Regions from separate parts of the Homo sapiens genome. Here all the other regions are linked to region 3. Evidence: promoter capture Hi-C in 16 types of primary human blood cells and fetal thymus (Javierre and others, 2016). All regions are on one chromosome and are shown on one strand. The core of a region is centred on a gene start or on the middle of the fragment in contact, and the rest is flanking DNA. Distances in the headings are between cores, read along the strand shown. Region 1 overlaps FAR1 (fatty acyl-CoA reductase 1). Region 2 has its middle 12 kb from the start of CALCB. Region 3 holds the start of COPB1 (coat protein complex I subunit beta 1). Region 4 has its middle 6.4 kb from the start of INSC. Region 5 overlaps FAR1 (fatty acyl-CoA reductase 1).

Region 1 (5,738 bases), core at 204-2,703, 790 kb before region 3:
TCTTACCCACCCACCCTACCCTTGTCTAAGCCTTGCTGTTTTTCTCCTGCCATCTGCAGTAGCCCTCGTAGATACCTATGGCATGGGAACAGTGCTTTTTTTCTCCCTTGTGAGCACCCTCAGTCTTGATGTTGCCTATCCATAGGCAGTATCACTTCTTACAAGAGGTGGTATATCAAGTGGTACCCAGAGTAATAAATGAAGGAGTTAGGAAGTAGGATACAGTTTGCCAGAATATTTTCTATTAACCTGTATTAATCTATTTAAATTCACAGATTCACAGCAGATATACATGTTCCTAGTTCTATAGGAATAGCATAACTTAAATAGGAATAGTTAAAACCCATTGAAATTGAGTCAATTTTAAATTGTTGGTTGATGAGTTCAAATTTAAAGTAAAATTTTTTTGGCATTGATTTAGTGATAGGTCTTATTTAACCTCTAATTGATTAATTACCCCTGCAGAACAATTTTGATTTCAATGTAGATTTTTTATGACATTTGTCCTAGGATTTTTCTGTGGCATTTTTATTTCAGTGTAAAATTGACCATTAGAGCATATAAGAAAAAGATAAAATCTAAGGTGATTTTAACTTTATGATAATTATTTTCAGTATTCTTTTAAGAATATTTAAACATTTTTAATGAGTTAGGTTTTTTTGTAATCTTTTATTGTGTTATAAAGTTTAGTAAAAGCTGAAATTGAGCGTTATATTTTAGTGACTATCTCAATATACATTTCTAGTAAAGTATTAATATAGATGATACTAGGTTTGATTATGTTGACATTACATAGCCTATATAAATTACAACAGAAGTTAATTTTGGGTTGTTTTAAGCCTGTTAATGTATGTTAATTTGAGCATCTTAAGCAAAGGATGATTATTTTCCTTTTCTTTTTTAAGTAAGTACAGTAATAAGAGTCTGGAAAGAGGAACAGAAAGGAAGAAGCTATCGTGAGAGGTGAAATATAGAAAGTGACACTGTAAACTGACATAGGTAAAACATTAAAAGGATTTTAAGAGTGAATTTTAGCAAAAATTCATTCATCTAAAATTCATAAATAGCGGCAGTTACAAAACCACTTGAGTTTAGCAGTCTAATAACCATATTCTCTTAGCTACTAGAGAGTAGAAAAGTTTGTTTTTTAAATGTACGAACTCTGACATCTTTGGTAAAATATTTTGCATTATAAAAACATGATTTTTTTTTTTCAAAACTTCATTACATGGTTATTATCAAAGCTGTTACACAACTTTTCTTCTTCAGAGTACCATGTAATTTCCACTTTCAAGAGGAATCCTCTCGAACAGGCCTTCAGACGGCCCAATGTAAATCTAACCTCCAATCATCTTTTATATCATTACTGGATTGCTGTAAGCCATAAGGCCCCAGCATTCCTGTATGATATCTACCTCAGGATGACTGGAAGAAGCCCAAGGTAATGGTGACTAGCTCTGTCTTATCTGTTCCTCTGTTAAACAACCCATGCTTACACTAAAATGCATATTAACTCTGTATTTGTTTATGCTTATGATAAGGCTTAATAGCCTTTTGTGAATGAGAAGCCTCTTGAATTTAAGACTTTGTCAGAAAAGCAAAGGTAGTGTTGTAAGTCACTCTAATTTGTTTAAAGTTTGGATAAGTTATTGTCATGTATTGAATTCTAAGTCTTACTTTAGGCTTCTTTCTGAATAACAATATTTAAATTGCTTTGACGCTTATTTTTCCTACAGGATATTATGTAAGTCATTCCTTCAAGATGAATCCTTTAAACCAAGTATTCAGGTGCCCCAGTTTTAAGTTTAATTCCAACAGCCTATCGCATCATTATCGGAAGGGTGTCAGCCATAGAGTATCTGCATTATTGCTCGATTGCACTCATGTTGACAGGTCAGAAACCGCGGTAAGAAGAATAGCAGTAAATACACTATGTATTGGTAAGGTGGTGGCAGCTTGCTGGAGAGATGAAAAAAATCACTAGCATGAGCTTTACCTTTAGATTTACTCACCTGATTAATCACAATCAGAATGCTAGGACATTTCTTAGAATTTGGAGATCTTTGGGGACACTAACTATGGATCACATCGTATTGGGTCGTTCATCCTCCAAAATTCCATAATATAGGAAATGTCCTACATCATGGTTGTCATTGTTATTATAAGCTGAAATTAAGCCCTTCTCTCCCTCTTAAAAACCTAGGGATGAGTTTGTATAGGGGATTAAGGGCAAAAGTTTTGCTTCAAATGGATGGTGCAGTTTTATGTGAAAAATATAGGATGCTTCTAGAAAATTACTTGAAATATCTCAGCTGCCCATTCAGCTTATAATATGGTTATTTCAGTTTTTGACTAATTATCCAGGTTGGGAATGGCATAGTTATGAAAAAAAAGTTAATAATAAACAGAAAACTTTGTTTTCTTATCGTTGTTATAGCTTTTCTTTCTTTTTTTTGTTGAAATCCCGCAAACTTAAAGATCTCCTACTGTCTTTACCACACAATTACAGTGGAATATACTATTAAAATACTTAATTTTTTTTAACTACATTGGCATTACAGTGGAGTCGTTGATTGGAGAGTTCAGGATTTGAGTATTTTTGTATAAAGAAGATGCTGATCCCAGAACTTCCATCAACTACTCAAAAAATAAAAGTGAGGTAACTGCCAGTTACAGTGTATCAGGATCTGAGTTCCTCGTAGGTATTGTCTGTGGATTCACTTTTCCATGATGTTTCTAACCCTATATGTTAGCTAATTGAAATATGTGAGAGGTGTTGAACAACTTTAGAGCAGGTAAAGAAATATTTTCAGACTTTTCTAGAATGATCTGCAAAATGCAATACTTGCCATTGGAAGCATTCTTCATGGCTAAAATGCAGATGTAAATTCATGAATGGTGGCAGTGCATGCTTTCTTTATATTAATAAGGTTGTTATAATTTAGGACAGAAAAGTAAAAACTGGGTCAAAAAAAAAACAGGTTAAATACATCACATTGCCTTACACGAAGAAAGAGGGCTTAGTAAAATTTTAAAAAAATAAGTGAATAGCTGGTTTACTAAATGCTTCAGAGGAGATGTTGCTGCATAACAAATCATCTCAAACTTAGAAGCTAAAAACAGCAACAGTTATTTTATTATTTCTTTCAATTATTTCTGTCAGGATCAAGAATTTGAGAAAGAATCCACTGGGCAGTTTTGGCTTGGAGTCTTTCATGTGTTTGTGATCAGATGAAAGAGGCCGGTGGGCAGAGAGGCAATGGAACAGCAAGGGGACTGATGTTACTCTTTGTCGTGTCATAAGGATCTCTCCATATAGCTCTTTGCAAGGATTAATGATAGCCTTAGGGGAATTAGACTTCTTATATAGCAGCTGATGGCTTCAAGGGGGAAGTCTTTTAGCAAGTAAGGTGGAGGCTGCGTTGCCTTTTCTGAGCTACCCATGGAAGTCATGCAGCATCACTTTTGCCTCATTCTTCTAGTTACAAGTGAGTCACAAATCTTCTTAAATTTTTTTTCATATGTTCATAATTTTATTTTGGTGCCTGACATAGCACATTTTTTAAAAATACTTCAAGTTCTAGGGTACGTGTGCACAACGTGCAGATTTGTTACATATGTATACTTGTGCCATGTTGGTGTGCTGCACCCATTAACTTGTCATTTACATTAGGTATTTCTCCTAATGGTATCCCTCCCCCCTCCCCCCACCCCACGACAGGCCCCCAGTGTGTGATATTCCCCACCCTGTGTCCAAGTAAGGGGATTTAGAAAGTGGTCAAGATGAAGGGTATTGTTGCCATCATTTTTGGAAAGTACAATCTGCTATAGTCAACCTTCTGGCCAAAACAATTCATATTTCTTCTACATGGAAAGGACAGTTGCTTCTTCCCCACTCATCCTGCCTTCCCCCTCGCGCCTCCCCATCCCCACCACCGCCCCAGATCCCTGTGGCATCAGCTGGAAGCCAGGGTTTTGTCATCTAAATCTGGTCAATTGGCGGATGACGCTCTTTAGGAGTGATTTTGTCAGCATAGCTCCTCAAGTATAGTTCCTCAATAATTGATATGTGAACTAAAGCAACGAGTTACTGACTGCCCATACGCCCATCATAAATGATGGTAAGCATAGGATAATGGCTTTAGACAGTTTTATTCAAAAAGAGAGAAATTGGGAGGCACCCAGCAAACACTGGTCTATAACATTTCTGAATTCCAGTCAGATATGTGTTGATGATTTCTTGATAAGGAGCTCAGTCTTATTCTCTGGGAGTTCTCTGAGGTTCTTGCCTCTGCCCTCTGAGTCATCCTTCCTTTTGCATAAAAACTGGCCTGTGGGCTCTGTGTGCAGCCAAGTAGCCTTCTTATCCTGCTTCGTGCCCATGAAAGGTTAGGGGATCAGGGCAGGAACTGGAAAGCTTTTCTTGTAAATTAAGGCCATATAGTAAATATTTTAGGTTTAGCAGGACATGCGGTTTTTGTTGAAGCTACTCATCTTTGCTGTTAAAAATGAAAGCAGCCATAGACAATAGGCAAATGAATGAATATGACTGTGTCCCAGTAAAACTTTATTTACAAAAACAGGTGGTGGGCTGGATTTGGTATATAGGCTCTGGTTTGCTGACCCTTGATATAGCAGTCTCTTCATTTTTTTTTTCTTGTCTATCCCTTTACATGTAATCTGACATGATTGCTTAAAAATTGTGTGAGTTTCCGGTGTATCTGTTTTCAAGGAATCCAGCCTATTAGACGAAAGCCATACCCATAAGTTTCTTTGACACAAACCCTTCTCTATCTTGGGTCCCCTGTGAGGTTCCTATGGGACAGCACTTTTAGATCTTAAATCCTTGCCTCTTAGATCCTGCCTTTTGAACAATAAGAGTTTCTGTTACACATTTCTTTAAGATCTGGAGAGTGCCTTTTGTCTGTCTGAAAGTTCTGGAAGGCACTGCCTAGGTCTTTCTAAAGTCTTAGCAAAGGATTCATCTTCCCCTACCCTGCTATGCTCAGAAACTGTTTCTTAAAGAATTCCTGGCTGACATTTTACATTTCCTCCAAATTCCACTCAAATAGTTCATTTTTTTAAGATCATCTTTGTCCTCTTTTGCCCTCTTTCAGCAAATTTCTGCTAGATCATTGAGTTTATTAGTACACTTTCTATATTCCATATAACCAGAGGTGACAGTTTGTTGTCCTCACTTCAAGCCCTCACCAACAGCTTTCTTAAAACCCTTTAAGGCTTCCATTAATAATGTTTTCCTGGTCCTTTCACATTTCACTACTGATCACCTCACAGGCCTTAGAGATTTTGTTTACCACTTGACCCTGAAGCCAATACCACATGTTTTAGGTTTTTATTATAGCAGCCCCTCCCAGTGTTGAGATCTGTGTTGAGATTTGTTAATCTGTTTTACATAACAAGTCACCTCAAACTTAGTGTCTTAAAGCAATCATTTTATTTGTGTGTCACAATATCTGTGGGTCAGGAATTCTAGAAGGGTTAGCTTGATGGTAATGGCTCAGGATCTTTCAAATGATTGTAGTCAGACAGGGACTGGAGGAACTTTGCTGTGGAGGGAGTGGTAAAGGGGGGAAGGGGACAGAGTAGCTGGGGTGGCTGGGCATCTCTCTCTCTCCAGTAGTGTCATACCCTCTCCATGTGGCCTCTCCATATGGACTAGTTTGAGCTTCCTCGCAGTATGGCAGCCTCAGGGGGAGTTGGACAGCATACACAGTGAC
Region 2 (5,396 bases), core at 944-3,443, 580 kb after region 3:
TTTGAGTTCTCCCTTTTACATCAGCTTATCTTTCATTTCTTTTTCTTGACATATTACTCTGGCTATAACTTCCAGTATGATGTTGAATTGGAGTAATAAGTGCAGACATCCTACTCAATCGTTGTGGTGATATTAAAGAAAAGTCCATACATTCTTTGGTACTACTTCCTTTAAAATTGGGAGTCAACATCCCCTTCCCTTAAGTGTAAATTCTATTGACTGATTTGCTTCTAACAATAGAATGTGACAGAGGAGATGGTATGTGACATGTGCTTAGAGCAGCATATAAGGTATTATAATATCCTCCTTGCTTTCTTTCTTGGGTTACTTACTCTGGGGGAAGTCAGATGACTTGTGAAGACATTCAAGCACCTGTGAGAGGCCTACATAGCATGGAACTGAGGCGTCCTGACAATAGCCATGTGTGAGCAAAGTGGGGTTGCAATCAGCTTCGTTGGTGCCAGTTAAGCCTTCATATGACTGTAGCCCCAGTGGATACCCTGCCTGCAGCCTCATGAGAGACCTTGAACAAGCACCACCCAGCTAAGTCATTTCTAAATTCCTAACCCACAGAAACTATGACCAAAAAAAAATCGTTGTTTTAAGCCACTAAGCTTTGGGGTAGTTTGTTACATAGCAATAAATAATACAGTCTTTCAACATTAAACATATTAAGTATAAATTTTTTAATAGATGCTCTTCATCAGGTTAAGAACATTCCCTTTGATATCTAATTTGCTGAGAGTGTTTTTTTTATCATTATGGATTAATATGAGAACTTTTGTGGAAGCTAAATGATGAGAATACATGGACACACAGAGGGGAACAACACACACTGGGGCTTATTGGAGGGTGGAAGGTGGGAGGATAGAGAGAATCAGGAAAAATAACTAATGGATACTAGGTTTAATACCCAAGTGATGAAATAATCTATACAACAAACCCCCATGACACACAGTTATCTATGTAACAAACCTGCACATCCTGCACTTGTACCCCTGAACTTTAAAGTTAAAAAAAGAAAAAAAGGAAAAATTTCCAAGTGTTTTCCATGCATCTATTTATATAGTCATATTTTTTTTCTTTGGTTTGTTAATATGGTAAATTAATTGATTTAAAAATGTTGAAACAGCCTTGCATTTTCAGGACAAACTCCCCTTGGTTGTGATGTATTATTCTTTTTATATACTGCAGAAATCTACTTGCTAATAAATTTGTGGAAGAATATTTTGAGTTTATGTTCAAGGAGAGCATTAGTTTGTGCTTTTAATATTTTTGCTTTTAGGGTGTTAGGGTAGTGCTAGCCTCATAAAATTAGTTGGGAAGTATTCTCTTCTCTTGTTTTCAGGAAGATATTTTTTAGAATTGGTATTACTTCTTCCTTAAATGTTTGTAATAATTTACCAGTTAAGCCTCCTGGGCCTGGATTTTCCTTGTAGAAAAGTTTTCAACTATATATTAAATGTATTTAAAGCATATATAGGACCATTTTTATAATACCATTTAGGTTTTCCTTCCTGAGTGAGTTTTGGTAGTTTATGCCTTTCAAGGGATAGATTCATTTTTATCTAAGTTGATGACTTTATGGGCAGAATTATTCATAGTATTCCTTTATTATTGTTACTGTCTGTAGGGTCTGCAGTAATACCTTCTCTTTCATTAATGATATTGGTAGTTTGTCTTCTTTTTCTTTTTTTCTTGGTCATTCTGGCTAGAGGATATTATTTAATTATCTTTACAAAGATCAAGCTTTTGGTTTCATTGCTTTTCTTTGTTTTCTCTTTGTAATGTTATTGATTTCTGCTTTTATTATTATTATTCCTTTCTTCTTTTTTCTTTGGTTATTATATAAAAGTCTTTTTCCATTTTCTTAGGGGGAAAGCTTAGGTTGTTGATTTGAAACCTTTCTTTCTTTCCCTTAATATAAGTATTTAAAGTTATAAATTTCCTTCAAAGCATTGTTTTAACTATAAATTTTGTTATGTTACATTTTAATTTTTATTCAAGTCAAAATCTTTTCTAATTTATTTGAGAAATTTTTTTAATACATTGGTTTTTTAGAAATCTATCCTTAATTTCCAAATATTGCAGAAGTTTTCAATTTTCTGTCTTTGATTTACATTTTAATTCTGTGCATGATTTCAATTTTAAATATATATATATTTTAATTATTATTATTTCAATAGTTTTTGTGGAACTGGCGGTGTTTGGTTACGTGGATAAGTTCTTTAGGTATAATTTCTAAGATTTTGGTGCACCCATCACCCGAGCAGTGTACAGTGCACCCAATGCGTAGTCTTTTTTCCCAACCCCCCTTCTGCACTTTCCCCTAAGTCCCCAGAGTCCTTTATATCATTCTATGCCTTGCATCCTCATAGCTTAGCATTAATTTAAATTTACAAATTTTTAATTTAAATTTTTGGCAATCAAATGTATTAATATTTTCCTTTATAATTTCTTTCTTTTTTATCCTCAAAAACAGCTTCCCCCATGTGCAACTACACCAAGCTTTTATTTATATGTGCCTTAACTCCATGAATGGCAAAATTGTCAGAGACGGTTTTTCAGGCATATTATACTTATAATCCAACTGGAACTTACTTTGTTGTGTGGGAATCAGAATATTGTCTGCAACTTTTGATTAAGCTAAGCATATGAAGATGCAAAGGCATAAACATCATAGCATAGCGCTTGGTTAAGGAATAGCCATACTTTAAAAAATTTTAATTATGGCCATTTTTTAATAAAAAAATTGGCTGGGCATGGTGGCTTACACCTGTAATCCCAGCACTTTGGGAGGCCGAGGTAGGCGGATCACCTGAGGTTGGGAGTTCGAGACTAGCCTGACCAACATGGAGAAACCCTGTCTCCACTAAAAATATAAAATTAGCTGGGCATGGTGGCTCATGCCTGTAATCCCAGCTACTTGAGAGACTGAAGCAGAAGAATTGCTTGAACCCGGGAGGCAGAGGTTGCAGTGAGCCAAGATCATGCCATTGCACTCCAGGCTGGGCAACAAGAGCGAAACTCCGTCTCAAAAAAAAAAAAGGAAAAAAAAGAAAAAGAAAAAACTGATGGATGTGGTGAAAAGGGTACACTTTTACACTGTTGGTGGGAATGTAAACAAGTGAGACCGCTATGGAAAACAATGTGGAGATTCCTTAAAGAACTAAAAATAGATCTGTCATTTGATCCAGCAATCTTACTCCTGGGTATCTACCCATAGGAAAAAAAGTCATTATATGAAAAAAGATGCTTGCACACACATGTTTATATTATAGCAGCACAATTCACAATTGTAAATATATGGAACCAGCCCAAATGCCCATTAATCAACAAGTGGATAAAGAAAATGTGGTGTATATATATACCATGAAATACTGCTCAGCCATAAAAAGGAACGAAATAATGGCATTTGCAGCAAGCTGGATGGAATTGGAAATCATCATTCTAAGTGTAGTAACTCAGGAATGGAAAACCAAACATTGCATGTTCTCACTCATAAGTGGGAGCTAAGCTATGAGGATGCAAAGACATACGAATCATTCAATAAACTCTGGGTACTTGGGGAAAAGGGCGGGAGGGGAGTGAGGTATAAAAGAGTACACATTGGGTACAGTGTACACTGCTTGGGTGATGAGTGCACCAAAATCTCAGAAGTCACCACTAAATAACTTATTCTTGTAACCAAAAATCACCTGTTTCCCGAAAAGCTATTGAAAAGAAAAAAAAGAGCTGGGTGGCTACGGTAATATTAGACACAAAAGACTTTAAACAAAAAATTATACAAGAGATAAAGAGGACATTTTATAATGATAAAAGGGATGACCACTAAGAAGGTATAACAATAATAAACATATATTAACCTGAAAGCAGAACTCCAAAATTCATGAAGTGAAAACTAACAGAATTGAAGCCAGAAGTAGGCCATTTGGAAAAAAAAAAAAAAAAGATTAATCATGGGCATTCTTGCAGAAGTGAGGTGATAACCGCATTGTGATTTTGATTTGCATTTCCCTGATAATTAGTGATGTTGAACATTTATTCATATGTTTATTGGCCACTTGTATAACTTCTTTCTTGCTGTTTTGTTTGAATTCCTTGTAGATTCTGGGTGCTAGTCCTTTGCCGGATGCATAGTTTGTGAATATTTTCACTCACTCTGTGGATTGTGTTTACTCTGCTGATTATTTCTTTTGCTGTGAAGCTTTTTAGTTTAAGTCCCATCTATTTATTTTTGTTTTTGTTGCATTTCCTTATAGGTCCTTGGTCATGTACTATTTGTCTAGGCCAATGTCTAGAAGAGTTTTTCTGATGTTATCTTCTAGAATTTCAATGCTTTCAGATCTTAGATTTAAGTCTTTGATCCATCTTGAGTGGATTTTTTTACAAGGTAAGAGATGAGGATCCAGTTTCATTCCTCTACATGTGACTTGCCAATTATCCCAGCACCATTTGTTGAGTATGGGATCCTTTCCCCACCTTATGTTTTTGTTTGCTTTGTCGAAGATCAGTTGGCTGTATTTGGCTTTATTTCTGAGTTCTCTTTTCTGTTCCATTGGTCTATGTGTCTGTTTTTGTACCAGTACCACGCTGTTTTGGTAACTATAGCCTTGTAGTATAGTTTGAAATCAGGCAATATGATGCTTCCAGATTTGTTCGTTTTGCTTAGTCTTGCTTTGGCTATGTGGGCTCTTTACTGTTCCATATGAATTTTAGGATTGTTTTTTTCTAGTTCTGTGAAGGATGATGATGGTATTTTGGTAGGAATTGCACTGAATTTATAGATTGCTTTTGGCAGTATGGTCATTTTCACAATATTGATTCTGCCCATCCATGAGCATGGGATGTGTTTTCATTGGTTTGTGTTGTCTATGATTTCTTTCAGCAGTGTTTTGTAGTTTTCCTTGTAGAGATCATTTGCCTCTTTGGTTAGGTATATTCCTAAGGTTTTTTTTTTTCCTTCTTTCTTTCTTTCTTTTTTTTTTGCAGCTGTTGCAAAAGTGGTTGAGTTATTGTTTGATTGTCAGCTTAGTAGCTATTGGTGTATAGCCGTGCTAGTGATTTGTGTACATTAATTTGTATCCTGAAACTTTACTGAATTCATTTATCAGATTTAGGAGCTTTTTGGATGATTCTTTAGGGTTTTCTAGGTATATGATCATATTATTGGCAAACAGAGACATTTTGACTTCCTCTTTACCAATTTGGATGTCCTTTATTTCTTTCTCTTATCTGATTGCTGTGGCTAGGACTCCCAGTGCTATGTTGAATAAGTGATGAAAGTGGGCATCCTTGTCTTGTTCCAGTTTTTAGGGGAAATGCTTTCAACTTTTCCCCATTCACTATAATGTTGGCTGTGGGTTTGACATAGATGCCTTTTATTACCTTAAAGT
Region 3 (6,083 bases), core at 3,082-5,581:
TGCGGTGGTTCATCTGGCCCACAGAACTCTTCATTTAATAGCCACTTAAAATTTTTGTATTTTTACTAGAGATGGGGTTTCGCCATGTTGGCCACGCTGGTCTCGAACTCCTGAAGTCAAGTGATCCACCTGCCTCAGCTTCCCAAAGTGCTGGGATTACAGGCATGAGCCACCATGCCCAGTCTCAACTCTTCTTAATGGCAAAAATATACATTAAACTGGAGAGTATGTATTTATTTATTGGTTGGAGGAAGGTAGCTAAGGCAGCTTCAATTAAGACTAGGGCATTGTTCCAACTAAGGGCAGATTTTATTCTTTACCTTCCTAGCTATAACCTTAGGTATCCTGAGGATCTAACAATGAAAATTTTTAAATTATGAGGAAAAACACTAATGAATGTATTCACTATTTTGCATTCAACTATCCTACATGAACATGAAAAAAGGGAAATATATGTGGCTTATGTATATAATGGTATCATTTTAAATATCATAAAACTGGGTTTCTTTTCCCTTCTCTAAAAATAGACCTCAATAGAAACCTAGTATTAAGTAACCTAGAATCAGGAGGTATTCCATTACTGCTGATTAAGAAGTGGGAATAGGCAAGTAAAATATTAAGTTTCTTTTCAAACTGCAAACTATCTTCTAAAAGATCCTTTCTATATTTGAAGCATAATTTTCACTCTGCTCTGTTTAAACAATATTTATCAGTTTAAGTTGTATTTATTTTTAGCAGTTCAATTAAACAAGAATCATTACTTTGGAAAGCATATTAATTATAAATTTTTTTTTTCTTGACAGAATCACTCACAAAAAGGAGACACGGTATACATTTTTAAAATTCAGAAATATGATAAATTTAGTAAAGTTCCAGGACACAAAATCAACATACAAAAATCAGTAGCATTTCTATATGACAACAGTGAACAATCTGAAAAAGAAATTGAAGAAGTAATCTAATCCCATTTACAATACCCACAGATAAAATTAGATACCTAGGAATTAATTTAACCAAATAAATGAAAGATTTCTACAATGAAAACTATAAATACTGATGAAAGAAATTGAAGAGAACATCAACAAATGGAAAGATATTCCATGATCATGGATTAGAAGAATCAGTATTGTTAAAATGTCCATACCACCCAAAGCAATCTAGAGTCAATGCAATTCCCATCAAAATACCAATGACATTCTTCACAGAAAAAAAAAAAAAATCCTAAAATTTATATGGAACCACAAAAGACCCAGAATAGCCAAAGCTATCCTAAGCAAAAAGAACAAAACTGAAGGAATCACATTACTTGACATCAAATTATCCTACATAGCTACAGTAACCAAAACAGCATGGTACTGGCATAAAAACAGACATAAAGACCCATGGAAAATAACAGAACCAAGAAACAAATCCATACACCTACAGTGAACTCATTTTGACAAAGGTGCCAAGAACATACATTGGAGAAAAGACAGTCCCTTCAATAAATGGTGCTTGGAAAACTATGTGCAGAAGAATGAAACTTGTCCCCCATCTCTCAACTTACACAAAAATAAAATCAAAATGGATTAAAGGCTTAAATCTAAGACTTTAAACTATGAAACTACTACAAGAAAATATTGGGAAAAATCTCCAGGACGCTGGTCTGGCCAAAAATTTCTTGAATAATACCCCACAGGCACAGGCAACCAAAGCAAAAACGGACAAATGGGATCACATCAAGTTAAAAAGCTTCCGCACAGCAAAGGAAACAATCGACATACGTGATGAGACAACCCACAGAATGGGAGAAAATATGTGCTAACTACCTATCTCACAAGGGATTAATAACCAGATATGTAAGGAGCTCAAACAACTCTACAGGAAAAAAAAAAACTCATAATCTGATTTAAAAATGGGCAAAAGATTTGAACAGACATTTCACAAAGACATACAATTGGCAAACAGGCATATGAAAAGGTGCTCAACATCACTGATCATCAGAGAAATGCATATCAAAACTACAATGAGATATCATCTCACCCCAGTTAAAATGGCTTTTATCCAAAAGACAAGCAAAAACAAATGCTGGAGAGGATGTGGAGAAAAGGGAACCCTCGTACACTGTTGGTGGGAATGTAAACTAGTATACCCACTATGGAGAACAGTTTGGAGGGTCCTCAAAAAACTAAAAACAGGGGTACCATACGATTCAGCAATCCGACTACTGGGTATATATCCAAAAGAAAGGAAATGAGTACATCAAAGAGATATCTGGACTCCTATGTTTGTTGCAGCACTGTTTACAACAGTCAAAACTTGAAAGCAACCTAAGTGTCCACCAACAGATAAATGTATAAAGAAAATGTGGTACATATACACAATGGAGTACTATTCAGCCATAAAAAAAGAATGAGATCTTGTCATTTGCAAAAATATGGATGGAACTGGAGGTCATTATGTTACATGAAATAAGTCAGGCATAGAAAGACAAACTTCACATGTTCTCACTTATTTGTGGAAGCTAAAAATCAAAACAAACTCACGGAGACAGAGTAAAAGGATGGTTATCAGAGGTGGGAAGGGTAGTGGTAGGGAAGTGGAGATGGTTAATGGGTACAGAAAAAATGAGTTAGACCCGATATTTGATAGCACACAGGGTAACTACAGTCAATAATAATTTAATTGGACATTTAAAAATAACTGAAAGTGTAACTGGATTGTCACACAGAAGACAAATGCTTGAAGGGATGGATACTCCATTTTTCCATGTGATAATTATGTATTGCATGCCTGTATCAAAGCATTTCATGTACCCCATAAATATATACATCTACTGTGTACCCCCAAAAATTAAACATTACAAAAAGTTCAGAAATATAGTTGTTTTCTTATTTGCAAAAATGCATAAAAAATGAAAAGGTAAACTTTTCTGGAAAATACATGTTTATTCCAGTGTTCACCTAATTGTTTGGGTGGGTAATCCAAAGAACAAAGTTCTTTTGGTTTTACAAGCTAAGTAACATGAAGTTAAGTGCACGATGGAATTAAGATATTCCAATACACATCCTCAACCTGTTGCCTAGAGAAAATAATCAGCCACATTAATATATTGAAGTCTACAAAAATTATGACATTTTGAGGAATATCTAAACTATTACAATTTCTTTAGGTTTACTAAGATAAACTGAGATGTTCTATTTCAAACAACCAATATTTAAAGAAGTTCGCATTTTTAATAAAAGGTCTATCGAAGAGATCCTAGAAAAACTTTAGACAAAAATTAAGCATTTCTAATTATAAAGGAATATGAAATATGAGTTTTTTATTTTTGTTTTTTCTTTTTTCATTTCATTCTCAAAATAATATCGAAGTTTACCTAGATCATTTTTTAAGCTAATTTCAGATGGTGGTTCTGAATCCATTGGCACGTTAATTAACGTGTAGCATACGTTCTCAGCCGCCGTCATGGTTTCTGGTTATATTATAACCAATCCTTGACACAAGATTTAAGGATGCCAGAAAATCTAGAAAAATAAACACAGACATATCATTACAAATTAAAAAAAAAAAACCCACAAACAAGTACCTATAGTGACCTTTTAAAGTATTAGAAAGGGCAGGTCAATCTATATCGTGTTCCCATAAAAATAAATTCTAGTAAAAACCACATTATCAGCTCTGGCATAAGGTATATTATCTATCACTCCCTCATCGCATCCCGGTCCAGTGTTTGAGAATGCTGTATAGCCGAATGAAGGCCCACAGAACAGTGACAGTCCCCCCAGCCACACCCCACAATGTTATGGACCGTATGGTTTTTACACAACACACAATCTGCATGCTCAAGTTAAGAGACCTTGTGCCTGAATACTCTGCCAAAACCCTAAAGCGCTTTATCGCGGTCCTTGGTGGGTTCCGACTCTATGTCCGCGGGTCCCTTAATCAACGCGCTGCACCCCCACCTCGCCCCACCCGCTTCCTCCTCCCCTTCCTCCAGCAAAGCAGCCCTAGGCCTGAAAGGGTACGCCTAGGGGTCTTGGGAGGGAAAAGACCCCCGGCCAATACAAAGGACGGGATGGAGCGTCCGACCCGGAGCTTCCTAGCCCTCCGCCCCCACCCCGACCCGCACCCCCACCCGTACCCCCACCCGGTCCCTTCTGCCAGGCCCAGACGCAAGCGGCCTAGTCGCTCCCCTTCCGCATCTTCCAGCTAGAAAGCCAGTTCTTCCGACTCTGCCCGACCCACCACGCCTCTGGGACTGGGGGCTTGTGGCCCACTACCAGGCTCCGAGGGGCAGTGGTTTGGTGCAGCCGCGGATCCGTCTACTGCGGCTCCGTCTACTCCGGCTATGAACCGCAGCAGCGGCGGCGGCGGCTCCAGAGTCCTTGGCTGACGTGGAAGGGGGTGGGGTAACGACCGAAGCCACAGCCACCTAGCACCTACGGCGACTCAGAGAGGACATGCTTTCTTTGTGCAGCGCTTGCGCGCTGCAAGTATATCCTATTTTCTTCCTCTTCTCTTGTCCAGGGTTTGATTAGGCCGCAGAGCAATGAAACCACGTATTTTCTAGTTTTCCCTGCAAGCCAAGCTCTGAGTTAAGCACTATGCTAATTTAAACGCTAACTGGAAATCGTTCCTTCTTCAGGAACAGTCAAGGGGAGAAAGTGCTTGGAGAGAGGGAAACTTTTACAGGGCTCTGTTCCCGTGAAAAAGAGCTCTGGACTAGAAAGTGGAAACCCAGTAATCCTTTTTCTTGTCCACACCCTAATAAACTGGGAAAGTAACTAATACTATTGGGAAGGTAATTCAGTTATTTTATTAATTATCACTAGATTAAAATCCATTTCAGTTCTTAACATCGCTAGTAGTTTGAATCTGCCTCTCTGCAGGTAGGGCTGGAGTTATTTGAAAATCCAAAGTCACATTGGTATAATTTCTGCTTTTTATTTAATAATGGCCTCTTTCCGTGATCCTTTCTGAGCACCCAGTAGATTAGAAAAAATTTTTATGCATAAAGGGAGACAGTCACTGTTTTAAAGGATTTTACGTATCTCCAAAGACCTGTTACAGCTGCAATCAGCCATAGTACTTTCGGTTTTGCCCATTTGAAGTTCCATAGCACGCCCCGCCCCTACACCTCCCTCTGCCCACAAAAGGGTTTTATGGCCAATTATTAATAACAAAATATCTTAAAGCTTAAGCAAAATACTGCGAATAAAAACAGATCTGACGGCAACTGCCCTAGTTAACAGGTTCATCTCAGGAAGATGGAACACCAATAGTACCTCATTTATGTAGGATCTAGCTCTTTTGAGCTTTCTCTTTTTAGAACCATCAAGCAATCTACAAATTCTTTGAGCACCCAAAATTGTATTCAAAGGCCATGTGTTGACAGCACTTTAAGAGTGCCTCTCTGATTCTGTGCATTCATTTTTTTTAATATTTAATCTTAATGGTAGAGTGACATGAATACAGAGATCCCATATACTCTTTACCTAGTTTCTCCCAATGGTAACATCTTGCATAGTTATAGTACAATATCAATTTCAGGAAATTGACAGACATAATTCACCCAGCCTTGTTCAGACTTCACTAGTTTTACATGTACTCGTTTTTATATTCACTTGTAGACAATTTTATCATGCTTATATGTGTGTAATCACCAACACAGTCGAGACAGAACAGTTCTATCACAAGGATTCTCATGCTGTCCTTTGATAGCCATAGCCACCTCCCACACTAACCTGTGGCAACCACTAATAATTCTCTATGATTTTTATCATCTCAATGTTATATAAATGGAATTATACAATGTAATCTTTTGAGATTGGATTTTTTTACTGAGCATAATTCCCCTGAGATCAATCCCGGGTGTGTGTACAACAGTTTGTTCCTTTTCTGTGTATTCGTTTTTAACATGGAAGTTTTACAAATGCAGTTATCTGGTTTCCAAGCCCACTTAACTTACCAAAAAGTGACAATCTGTCAGCAAGAAATGAGGCCAAAAAAGGTATAAAAACTAGATTTACAGTAAGAAAGCTCAGTTTAGGGCCATCATGGTGTAGGACTTAAACCGTACAGACTTCATTTGCCCCAGAGGT
Region 4 (6,240 bases), core at 3,223-5,722, 610 kb after region 3:
TCAGCCGTGTGGCCCTCTTTCCCACTGGGACCTGCCTGGAATATGAAAATGAACAGAATATGCATTTTGCCTGAAAGATGGCCCCTTTCCTTACCATCTGTCAGCTCAGAGTCCTCATCAGATACACCTGGAAGGACTAGGTCTCAGGTGCTGTGGACTTAGGTGTGGAGATTCAGAGAAGGAAAAGACACTTGTGCAAGGTCAAAGAGATAAAAGATAAGCCTCAAGCCCTCATCCGCTGTGCTGTGTGCTTTCTGCTGGTGGGCCTTCTCTTTTAGCTGTCTTCACTGAGGAGACATGCAGAGGGGGAACAAGTGAGGACTTGTAAATTGGTAAGCAAAAGTAGAAAGCTCAAGCCAGCTTAAGGGAAATAAGAAAAATCTTGTTAGAATGTACAGGTGTCTCATGGGACCCCCAGGACAGGGAAGCTGTTGGTTCTCATAAACCAGGGATGGGAATGTCCTTCTCAGGGAAAATTATTGGAAACCCAAGTCCTCTTTCTTTTAAGGACTGGGTTTTCTGTTGGTTCTCTTTCTCTTTTTGCACCTGGTTCCTGGATGATCTCTGCCCCTCTTTGCTCTGACACATGGGGCAGCTACTTCCTCTACCATGCTTGAACCATTCCATGGCAGTTTACTAATATCTATTGTGTGCTAGCTACTGCACTAGAAGACACGGTCTCTTTTCTCATGGTATGGAAGGTGGGAGAGACAGACAGTAATCAAACAAATAAACAATCAAGGGAATTTCAGAGAGTGATAAGTGGCATTCATAGGAGAATGACCAGGGATGGTTCTTTGTAGGTCAGGGAAGATTTCTCTCAAGAAGATGATGTGACTTGAGACCCTAGAAGAGAGAAGAATTATGTAGGGTTTCTTGAGTCAGAAGAAAAGGTTTGCATTTTTTTTTCTAAGTGCAGTAGTAAGAAGCAATTAAAGAGTTTTAGGTGAGGGAGGACAAGCTCGTATTTACGTTGTTAAAGGATGACTCAGGCTGCTGTGTGGTTAATGAAGGTTAGAAGGCAGAAAAGGAGGCAGCGAGGTCCTCGCAGAAACTCTAAACAGGAGTCCAGGTTTGCAATGATAAGAAATGGTGGAGGGGGAGAGAGAGAGCCTGGAGGCAGAGCAGAGGACTAGCAGACCAGTTGGATAGACAGGGAGGGAAATAGTGGGGGTAAAGGGGAAGCAAAGGCAGCTCAGGTTTTTGTTTTCATCAGCTGGTGGTGGGGTGGTGCCATTTAATGACCTTCCTTGATGAGAACTCACAAGCAGTCCCAGAGCTGCTGCACTCTCCAGGTGGGGCAAGTTCTTTCCTTGTCAGGCTCCACAGCTTCCTGATGGCTCCCAAGTGCCCCCATGGGCTACTTCTATCTGCAGGCCTTGTTGTCTCTGGGATCAGCCCTTGCCCCCGCAGTAACTTTGTGACTCAGATCGGAGTCACCAAGTACCGGCTTGTACACATTGTCCTCACTGGTTTCATTTCAAATGTATGTTTTCCAAGCCCCAGCTGGGCTCCTTTTGTCATCCCTAATCCATTCCTTTCTTTTCCGTACTTCCCATGGGAGATGGTGTGTCCTATCCCTGATTCCTCAAGGCTCCACCCCCACTTATGCCCCTTTCTTCTCCACAAATTACCCGGCCTCCCACTTTGGGAAAAGGCCTTCTTATGTGTCTGCCCCCATCCTGCCCTTCTCAGCAGCAGGTGCACTTCCTCCTGTCCCAGGCGAACCTCTGCACTTGTATTGAAACTCGAGGGGCTGCCGGGCACAGTGGCTCATGCCTGTAATCCCAGCACTTTGGGAGGCCCAAGTGGGAGGGTTGCTTGAGCCCAGGAGTCCGACCAACATGGTCAACAGGGTGAATCCCTGTGTCTACTAAAAATACAAAAAATTAGCCTGGCTTGGTGGCGCATGTCTGTAGTCCCAGCTACTGGGGAGGCAGAGGTGGGAGGACTACCTGAGCTCAGAAAGTTGAGCCTGTAGAGCTGAGATCATGCTACTGCACTCCAGCCTGGGGGATGGAAGTGAGACCCTGTCTTAGAAAGAAAAAAAAAGGGGGGAGAGGGGAACAAACCAGAGGAGCCTAGAGTCAGGCAGATATGTTGATATGTTTTCATATCATATTGGGTTTGAATCTCTGATCTTCTGTAAACTGGCTGCCTGACCTTGGGAGAGCTATTTAACCTCTCTCAGCCTGCTTCCTTCCCTCTAAGTGGGGCTAGTAATAACTACATATTATTAGACGAAACATGGAAAGTACTTGGTACAGGCAGGGCTGGTATATAGGAAGAACTCAATACGTGGCAACGTAGTCACTGTTATTATAATTTTGTCCCTCTTCCCGAGACCTTACTTCTTCAGTTACCTTCATACCCATCTTTCTCCCTGAAGGGAGCACAGGAAATGGAAGAAACACTGGACTCTGAGCTGGAGAGGCCAAAATGGCTTTTGGAGCCAGGCTGTCCTCCTTCCAGAAGGACCTGAGAAGCTGTTCCAGACAAGACAGAGCAAGCTTCTGGGAATCTAAACAGCCAGGGAAGGTCCAATGTGAGTCACTTCCTCAGTTAGGCACCAAGGCAGTGACAGAAGTAGCATTTCCTGGCCATGACTTTGCTGAGGTTGTCCTGCTGTTTTTGGAAAGGTATTGCTTTTTAGGCTTCATAAAGGGGGACTGTATCTTAGTTCAGGATGCACAGCCACTGCTTAGTCTCTTGGGATTCTCCAGGTACATGGGGTTAAGGAAGCTGGGGAGGAAGTGGTGTGACCGGCCCTACACAGCCCATGCTGGTCTTACACCCTGATGGCCTTTCCTCCCTGACCTGAACAACCTTTATTTCATTGTTAGGGAGGCTAAGCTATGACTCCTCCCACTGGAGCAATTCTCAAAGTTTAGCAGACATCAGAATCTCCTAGGAGACTTGTTCAAATGCAGCTTGCTAGACGGTAGTGACAGATTTTCTGATTCAGTCGCTGTGGGGTGAAACCTGAGAATTTGCATGTTGTTATAAGATCCCAGGTGTTGTCAAGATAGCTGGTCTAGGACCACTCTTTGAAAACCACCACCCTAGAGAGTTGCATGTTTGCACAATAATTTGTCCTTTGGCATCCCGTCTGAGGGCAGGGCATGATGTAGGGGAAAGACAAAGGGGCAGGAATCTTGGGTTCTTATTTTCACTAATTTACTCTGTGGCTGTATTTCTGAAGATGGTCTTGATTGTGAGTAAGGGATTATTGCTTGTTACTCTAAGACACATATGGACATTGTTGGAAGGATACTAGGGACTCTCTCTAAATTCAAGGAAGAGATTATAGTTAAGGTTTGGGAAGGGCAAGGCAGCCTTGGAATTTATTTTCTGCTGTCCAGGGCACTCTGGTCAGGTAGTTCAAATTCTAAATGCTGATAAGAAGTAATCTATTTGGCTCACAAGCAACAGGACTTTCCTACCCTCCCCCACGTAGCCAATAAGCCTCAGCAGGTATTCAGTGGAGCAGACGTATACAGGACAGGGTCAAGTAAAGAGGCAGGGCTGCTCCCCAGCTCCCACCAACCTGAACTGAGCAGCTTACTACAGAGGCCATGACTGGGATTCTTCCCCTGCCTGGGCCTCAGTTTTCTTATCTGTACCATGAGGGGTTTGGGTTAGAACTTCATCACTAGATTAGTGTTTCTCAAAGTTGGCCTGCATCATAATTTCTTGGGATGCTAGAAAATAGAGACCCACAATGTCCCATGGTGTGCTACTAAGTGATCAACAACAGGCTTTCCAAAACAAAACAAAACACAACACCCTAATTTATAGCGTTTGCTCAATTTCTGTAGTGTAAATAAATACTTCTACCTTGGTCAAGTTCAAGCTAACAATGTGAAGTCACTGAACGTCACTCGGGAAGAGAGGTGCATGTGGGCTCCAGCACACCACCCACCTACTGACTCAGAAACACTGAGGGAGGCCTTGGACTCTGCATTTTGCCCCCCTTCAGGTGATTTTAGTGGATCGTAAAATTTCAGAACCCCTGCATCCAGAGATCTCTGAGGGCTTTTCTGTCCCTTCTGTCTCTCCATTCTAATTATATTACAAGTTCTCACACTGGCTTTGGGAATTGGGGATCATTTTCCTTCTTGTAAGAATTGCAGAGCAAGGCCTGGAGAGATAGATGCCATTGCCCAAGTGAGTTAATGATGCATCTGCACCAGCCTGTCTGGTACTCTGTCTCCTTGTCCTCTGTGAGGGCCCTATCTCTCCATCCTGGGGGCAGGGCAGCATCTTGATGTGCACGTCTCAGGGGGATACTGGAGGTTGCAGCTGTGGATACTGGGACCCATGCCCATTGCTCATCTCTAAGGGTGGGGCTGGATTTCAGCTGCTATCACTATGACCTTTTGATCTCTTATCTCCATCCCTGGAACTGAGAGCCTGCCTGGCCATCGCTATTTTTGTGCAGGTCCCTCATCTTGATAACTTCTCTGTGCAGATAGAGGACAGAGTGGAGGATGCTGTTTTTTGTCTTGAGGTGTGCTGGGGCAGAGAGAGCCATGACAGAGCCCATGAAAGACCCACCAATAGATGGCAGGGGTGACACAGAAGTTGGGAAGAGAAAAGTTAGGCAAAAAAGTGTACAAACTACTGAAAAGGTTAAAAATTCTTTTTTTTTTTTTGAAAGTGTCCTACTCTGTTGTCAAGGGTGGAGTGCAGTGGTGTGATCATAGCTCACTGTAACTTTGAACTTCTGGGATCAAGCAGTCTTCCTCCTATCCTCCTGCCTCAGCCTCCTGAGTAGCTGGGACCACAGGTGCACACCACTTTTCCTGGCTAATTTTTTATTTTTATTTTTTTTCAAAGATGAGGTATAGCTTTGTTGTTTAGGCTGGTCTTGAACTTTTAGCTTCCACTTATCCTCCCACCTCAGCCTCCCAAAGTGGTACTGGGATTACTGGTGTCAGCCGCTGCTCCTGGCCCAGGATTGTACATTTAAGGAGCTTTCAGAAGAGATCATCTTTATGCTGTAATTAGGTTGGAAATTTAGTTTTGAACTGGAATCATCCCTGACTTTCTCTTATTCTAGAGAGTAGTGGTTCTCAAAGCATGATCTCCAGATCAGTAGTATCAACATCACCTGGGAACTTTTTAGAAATGCAAATTCTTCAGCTCAGAATATCTCCCCATCTTAGAGCTATTGCCTGAATCACCATGATTCCTTATTCATTTGTGGAGATTAAGCACTCCTCCCTCAAAAAACTCTTCCAATGCTGGTGCCCCATGGGACTGCCATGCTGGGCTATGTTCTCTGACTACAGGGTGGATGAGCTTGTGACAACAGAAACAGTTGGGGAATTCTGGGTTGGGGATAGGGGAAATCACAAGAGACAATAGAGACTACCCTGGCTATAACAGGCCTTCTTAGGCACTTTCTATTGTGGCTGCTTAGAAGGAGGCCTGAGGCCAGCACACATCCTGCCCCTTGGAGATACCTAGCATAGCATGGCAACTTCAAGCAGTGGATAAGCTCCTGGCGGACTGAACTCTTTGGATCTCTCCTGCATGTCTGTCCTCTCAACTCTCTGGACTCAGGACTTCATTGCCTGTCCCAAAAGGAAAAGGACTTTTCTGCCCTCCCCTACGTGGCCAATAAGCCACAAGAAGTATGTGGTGGAACAAATGCAGGAGAGGGTGGAGTGGCCTGGCCCCAATCCCTGTCTCCTCTCGTTCCACCAGGGTTTTGCCATCTTCCTACAGTATAACTTCAACTCCCTCGGGCAACACGTGCTCTGCTCTACCCAATGCTTGGGCTCCTGTGCCAGGCCTTGTCCCAAGGGCCCTGTTTATATTCATCTGGGCCTGAAGGACAGGATCCTAGCATTGGAGGCTGGTCAGTGCTCAGAGCCTCGGAGGTGCTCCCTCCTTGGAAGTGCGATCCCTTCAGAAGAGTGTAGCTGAGGCTTCTTTCAGTGACTATCTAGGGAATACTGGGGGAACAATTTGGAGCTGAGGCTGGGGGTTGACTATGAACCTGGCAGACTGCAGTGTAAACCTGAAGTCTTTCCTCCATTTAGGTCTGAACTTGTCCTTCCTAAAGTGATGTGTGAAGCTGGTGGATCTGGGATAGGCCATCTGGACAGGAGAAGAATGTGGAGTCAGGCTGGAGGGGACCTTTGCCTGATACAGCTCTGGACCAGTCCTGAGGCGCCTACTTTGGTTTAGGTGAAATAAGCTATTTGTGGGTACACCTCTGAGCATGTGCAT
Region 5 (5,775 bases), core at 2,700-5,199, 830 kb before region 3:
AAAGTAAACAGAGACAGGGTTTGCTGTCGCCCAGGCTGGAGTGCAGTGGCGAGATCATAGCTCGTTCCAGCCTCAAACTCCTCGGCCCAAGAGATCTTTCCACCGTGGCCTCTCAAAGGCTTGGGATTACAGGGGTGAGCCACCCCACCCAGGCCCTGTTATTCCATACATTTTCCATAAAATTATTTTATAATTTTTGTTTTGTTTTGTTTTTATTTTATAAATTTGTGTGTGTGTGTCTCGCTTTGTTGCCCAGGCTGGAGTGCAGTGACGCGATCTTGGCTCGCTGCAACCTCCACCTCCCAGGTTCAAGTGATCAGCTCTTGCCTCAGCCTCTCGAGTAGTTGGGACTACAGAGACATGCCCCACCGCACCGGCTAATTTTTGTATTTTTAGTAGAGGCGGGGTTTCACCATATTGGCCAGGCTGGTCTCGAACCCCTGACTTCAAGAGATCCATCCGCCTCGGCCTCCCAAAGTGCTGGGATTACAGGCGTTAGCTGCCGCGCCGGCCAAAATTATTCCATAAATTTATCCATAAAAATTCCACATAAATTTTCTGGAGTTTGATTATGTATTAGGCTTGTTGGGAAATTTATTACCCTTGTGAAGAATTTTGTAGCTAAGTAGCTTGAGGGTTTTTTTTTTTTTTTCACTCAGGAAAGACATGGTATGTATGCATCACTGCTATTCTATTTGAAGCTTTTGGAATTTTTATTTATGGGGTGTGGATAGAGGCTGGAGGCAGAGACTGAGGTCAGAGAAGAGGTAGTAGAAAAGAAGGTGGCCCACTACCATATTTCCAGTGTATTTAAATGGGAGATAGAGTTTCTGTTTGAGGATAGGACAAAAGGTTTGTGAAGAGTTATAGAGTCAAGGACAGAAGCCAAAGAGAGCATTTGCTGTGTAACATGTTTGCTTGTTAACCAGATCAGCAAAGCATTTTAACTAATGGACCATTATTTATGATCTAGAAACAATTTTGTGAAAGCGATTTCTTAGTGATGCTGTTTACTGTGATCACATTTGCCCTTAGTATAACAATACCTAAGTGCTGAGGCGACTTGCAGTAGAGAAGTAATCTGAGTGGCGTGGAGTGAATCAGGGAAGGTTTCCTGAAAGAGGTGAGTTTTGAGCCATCATGTGAACTAGAAGTTGGGATGTGGGTTATTACAAGACATGAGGATGACATTCCAGTAGTTTGTACTTGGTATAAGCAACTGTGGACAAGAGTGACAAATTAAAAATGGTTTTTAAGGATGATTGAAGATTCGAATGAAGATTTAGGGGTTTGGAAATCAACCAAGGCTATGTTGCAGCTTAGCTGATAAATAATTTTTTATGTTGGTTAGGAGAGAAAATTAACAGTTGATAATGGATTGGAGATAGGTAGTAAAGGAAAGAGCATAAAATATTTGATAGTTATAGGAGAATGAAGTGAAAGTAAGGTTATTGAGAGGTAGGTTTAACAGTCAACCATATATCATAAGTTGGAAACATTTTTGAGTCCTGTGCTAGAGTATATTGATAATAATAGCAAAATTTATTGGGTGCTACTTTGTGGCAGACACTGTTTTGAACCTTCCAAATATTATCTCATCTTCTGATTATCTGTATTTTATAGATGAGGGAGATAAGACTCAGAGAGATATAACTTGCCCAAGGTCACACAGCTAGGAGGGGACAGGTCAGGATTGGCAGAATCAGTCAGTAAATGTTAATTGAGCATCTGCTTGATGCCAGGCACTGTAGTAAGTGCTGGGTGTTCAATATTGACAAGAAAATTCAAGTCAGACCTCATCTATTTTCTAGAGATTGTCAGTTTATGTAAGAAGAGCCAGTGAAGAAAGAAAAAGATTAGTTGGAGAGATTTCTGTAGATACTGAGGAATACACTGTTTAGAGAAACCTGGGATAGAGTTTTAAAGAGGTGGTGGTTAGCAACAAAGTATATAGCTGAGAGACTCAGAACGATTGAGAAGAAACCATTGAGTTAAGTAAGTAAAAAAGTAATGTGAATTTAGTCACAAGAAAGCTGGAATGAAGATATTAATGTTTGGGCTGGTAGTTAATTGTGTTTAGTGGCAGGTACTCTATACAAATTTAAATATTTTCACAGTTATGGTCAGATTCATAGGAAAGATGATGGTATGACCCCTTGTAATGTTTTAATCTTTGGCTGGAAGATCATGGATGCTTTAAAATGCTTGCACTTTTTAGTTTTTTCAAATTTAAAAAAATGAGCAGGCAGACCGCCTGAGCTCAAGAGTTCAAGAGCAGCCTGGGCAACATGGCAAAACCCCTTTTCTATCCAAAAAAAAAAAAAAAATTAGTTGGGCAAGGTGGTGTGCACACCTGTAATCCCAGCTACTTGGGGGGCTGAGATGGGAGCCTGGGAGGTTGAGGCTGCAGTGAACCTTGATCATGCCGCTGTACTCCAGCCTAAGTGACAAAGTGAGACCCTGTCTCAAAAAAAAAAAAAAAAGTGAGCATTATTTTTATAATTAGTGGGGACAAGCATTCAACTGAAATGAGCTAATACTCAGGAAAATGTGGGTAGGCTAGTCTGAACTTGGGGTAGGAGAGAAGATAGTCTTATTTCAGTCCCTACTTGGTAAGAGCCACCTTGGTAGGTGTGTTCCTATCTTGGAAATGACTGGATTGTCACTGATGGAAACTGAAACTGTATGTACTGAAAGGTGGTATTTGCTTAACCTGAAGGATCAAGTTACTAACCCACCCTGAATGGTGGAGATACAGTCTTTGTTTTCCTGAACACTTGTTTTCTTAGAGTTTAATACATGAATTTAAGGTTTAAAAAAACCCAACAAACCACTGATAGAATTGTGTCATTTTAACTGCTTCTTTTGGCTTTATATCCTTCTTCCTACACATTGGTTCTATAGTTCCTCTCATTAATGGGTTTGCAACAGGCTTAGAGTTTCAGTTCAGTAAGACAAAATGGAAGTGCTGGATTTAGATATAGCTGATCAACTTAAACACTTATAAATTCACCATTGTTTTCGGTTCCCAATTTGAAGAGTGGAGACAGAAGTCAAGAAAATAAGCTTTTCTTATTCAAAGAATGATTCCCAAACCAATAGGATTTGCCCTAGGATCAGTACAGACTTATTACAGTCTCCTAAACAGAGAGGAAAGAGTTGCGTAAATTCATCTAGCTTTTAGTTTAATTTCACTTAGCCCATAGGGATTCTGAGAGGAAACGATATTAATGTGATTCCTATTTCATCTAGGCACTGTAGCATAATCCTTCAACAAATTACCACATTTGATTCTCATATAATTCTCTAAAATGTGAATACCATATTACAGATGAGGAGAGTGAGACTCAGAGAAGTTAGTAACTTTCCAAGGTTGGAGAGCTAAGTGACAGAGCTGGGATTCAAACCTTTCTTTGTCTAACTCCAAAACTCCATGCTTGTGAAACTAATAGCACGGAGGACTGATTTATACCTTCAACTGAAAAAAAATGCCACAAGCCTTAGGTATTTGTTACCTTAGAAGATGAGACTCTTGCTCTGAGTGTTTGTGCTCTGTGACACTGCCTCTAAATAAATGACAGTGATTTTTTAGTGTCTAATAGGATACCTTATATTTTCTTGCTTTAGAGATGTATGTTTTCATATTTTAGAATTTTTTGAAGATGTATATTGTCTATATTTACTTCAAAATGTTTGTGAAATGGTTACTATGTCTTAAATGTATCTCAAAATTGATGAAGCATGGCATATGCCTGTAGTTTTCACACATAAGTATCTTACCAATTTGTTGTGCACTTTTTCTTCCCAGCCTTCCCCATCTTATCCTATTATTTTTTTAAATATGATTTAATAAATAATTGAAATATATACTACCAATAAAATAACTCATTCTCTTTCATTAGTTAACATTACAGTGTACAGAAAAGCATTATGATGTAGAAAATTCAAATTGGGCCGGGTGCGGTGGCTCACGCCTGTAATCCCAGCACTTTGGGAGGCCGAGGTGGGCGGATCATGAGGTCAGGAGTTCGATACCAGCCTGGCCAATATGGTGAAAACCCCATCTAGTAAAACTACAAAAATTAGCCGGGCGTGGTGGCGCCCACCTGTAGTCCCAGCTACTCGGGAGGCTGAGGCAAAAGAATTGCTTGAACCCGGGAGGCAGAGGTTGCAGTGAGCCAAGATAGCGCCACTGCACTCCAGCCTGGACAACAGAGCAAGACTCCGTCTCAAAAAAAAAAAAAAAAGAAAAAAAGAAAATTCAAATTGAACTGTGAATCAGCAGATCTGAGCTTTAATTTTGGTTTTGTTAGCTACTTGATGTGTAACTTGCTAGGCAAGTCACTTCCCCTCTATGGGCTTTAGTTTCCTCATCTGTAAAATGGAGGGGGAGGAGAAATTTTAAGCCCGTCTTCCTTGAATAGGTTGTATGCCTTCTTTCTAATTAAAAACATAGATGCCCTAGATGCCTTTCTTAAAAACTGTATTACTGCATTTTACAATATTTTCTTTTAATCTTCCTTCTTTCCCTTCTTAATTTAGTAGAGAGGATAAATTATTTTTGGTATCCTACATTTACCAGGACAGCATATCTTAGGAAGCAGGGACCCAGAAAATAATGAATGAGTGAATATATGTTTTATTTGAGCTAATGAAAAATTTTTTAAATAAAGTACCGTCAAAAAGATGTTGAAGTTTCATTGAAAAGTAGTTCTACCTAAAGAATGAAACGTGTTTAGTAAAGTTCAATTGGTCTGTTCTGTATTGGATAGATGTACAAAGAAGAACACTCTTGAACTTGTCTTTAAGAAGCCCTCTTACTAGTAGGAGAGGCAAGCTTCTAAACTTTGTATTATGGAAAATTGACAGCAATAATACACACATCACCAACTTTAAGAGTTACTAACTTGTGGTCAGTCTTGCTTCATCCATACCTCCATCCACTTCCTTCTTTATTTTGAAGCAAATCCCTAGACTTTTTTTTTTTTTTTAACCAGTTGTTACCATGCAGTGTGATAAGTATAATAATAGACATGTTAATCCAAGTGAGGTGCAAATTTGTTCATATAAATATATTTTGAGACTTGAGCATTATACTGTTCTGGGCACGAGAAATTAGATATAGTAAGCTACTGTAGGGCAGGGATAATATAATTGAAGAGACTGTACATATGTGAAACAGAATGTAGCAACACTGGATCATGTGCCAAAATTGGTGGTAGAGACTCTTAAGTGGGAACTGACATTATTTTAGAATGAAAGTAGAACTTAAACAAGTGGCGATAGAGAGAAAGAACATTCAGGGATAAGGTGAGGGTAATCACATGGATAAAGCGTGCGGTTAGGAAATCTAATTTTGGCGCTATAGAATAAGTTATATCTAAATCTGTATCTCTCTATCTTTATCTTTTAGACTACTACAACATGTAATTGGCATACTGTAGATGTTATATCAGAACTTGAACAAAGCCGGTTGCTGTAGCAGAAATTAGGACACACTACTTTGTGAATATATCACTGTTCGTGGTTAATTTTTTGGCACGTTCTGTTAAAAAGCCTTCTAAATATCTTAATACCACATGTATTAATGGATCCATTCTTGTTAGAATGTTTGTGGGTTTGTGCCATCAGCTTTGGTGTGCAGTTGTGTGTGTGTGTTTAACTTAAATGTTAACTATTTGACAATTTTAAGATTATTTTGAAATATCTAGTTTAGATCATTCTTGTCTTACATGAAATTTTTTCCAGAAATGTTGGCATAATTCATGAGAAATC

What was found. Contacts are between HindIII fragments. The CHiCAGO score rates a contact against its expected background, and 5 or more counts as called.
Region 1: a fragment that was not itself captured here is called in contact with the fragment with the promoter of COPB1 in region 3 in 1 of 17 cell types (M1 macrophages); the score reaches 5.4 in M1 macrophages.
Region 2: a fragment that was not itself captured here is called in contact with the fragment with the promoter of COPB1 in region 3 in 1 of 17 cell types (total B cells); the score reaches 5.1 in total B cells.
Region 4: a contact is called between a fragment that was not itself captured here and the fragment with the promoter of COPB1 in region 3, in 1 of 17 cell types (total B cells). The highest score is 5.2, in total B cells.
Region 5: a contact is called between a fragment that was not itself captured here and the fragment with the promoter of COPB1 in region 3, in 1 of 17 cell types (monocytes). The highest score is 6.0, in monocytes.

What each region holds. Positions count from the first base shown.
Region 1 is chr11:13,713,240-13,718,977 of GRCh38, forward strand. It overlaps FAR1 (fatty acyl-CoA reductase 1), which reads left to right. Exons shown (of 12, transcript NM_032228.6): 9 at 1,270-1,441. Among named protein-coding and RNA genes, the nearest start is that of FAR1, 47 kb to the left of the region's middle. The HindIII fragment of the contact is 5,924 bases long and covers 1-4,415 here.
Region 2 is chr11:15,082,459-15,087,854 of GRCh38, forward strand. No RefSeq gene overlaps it. Among named protein-coding and RNA genes, the nearest start is that of CALCB, 12 kb to the left of the region's middle. The HindIII fragment of the contact is 626 bases long and covers 1,881-2,506 here.
Region 3 is chr11:14,495,480-14,501,562 of GRCh38, forward strand. It overlaps COPB1 (coat protein complex I subunit beta 1), which reads right to left and starts at 4,332. Exons shown (of 22, transcript NM_001144061.2): 1 at 4,228-4,332; 2 at 3,359-3,506. The coding sequence starts at 3,449. RefSeq lists an enhancer at 4,454-4,553. The HindIII fragment of the contact is 3,446 bases long and covers 1,730-5,175 here.
Region 4 is chr11:15,105,360-15,111,599 of GRCh38, forward strand. It overlaps a transcript of INSC not described here. Among named protein-coding and RNA genes, the nearest start is that of INSC, 6.4 kb to the right of the region's middle. The HindIII fragment of the contact is 3,929 bases long and covers 2,509-6,240 here.
Region 5 is chr11:13,670,078-13,675,852 of GRCh38, forward strand. All of the region lies in intron 1 of FAR1 (fatty acyl-CoA reductase 1), which reads left to right. Among named protein-coding and RNA genes, the nearest start is that of FAR1, 4.3 kb to the left of the region's middle. The HindIII fragment of the contact is 1,771 bases long and covers 3,065-4,835 here.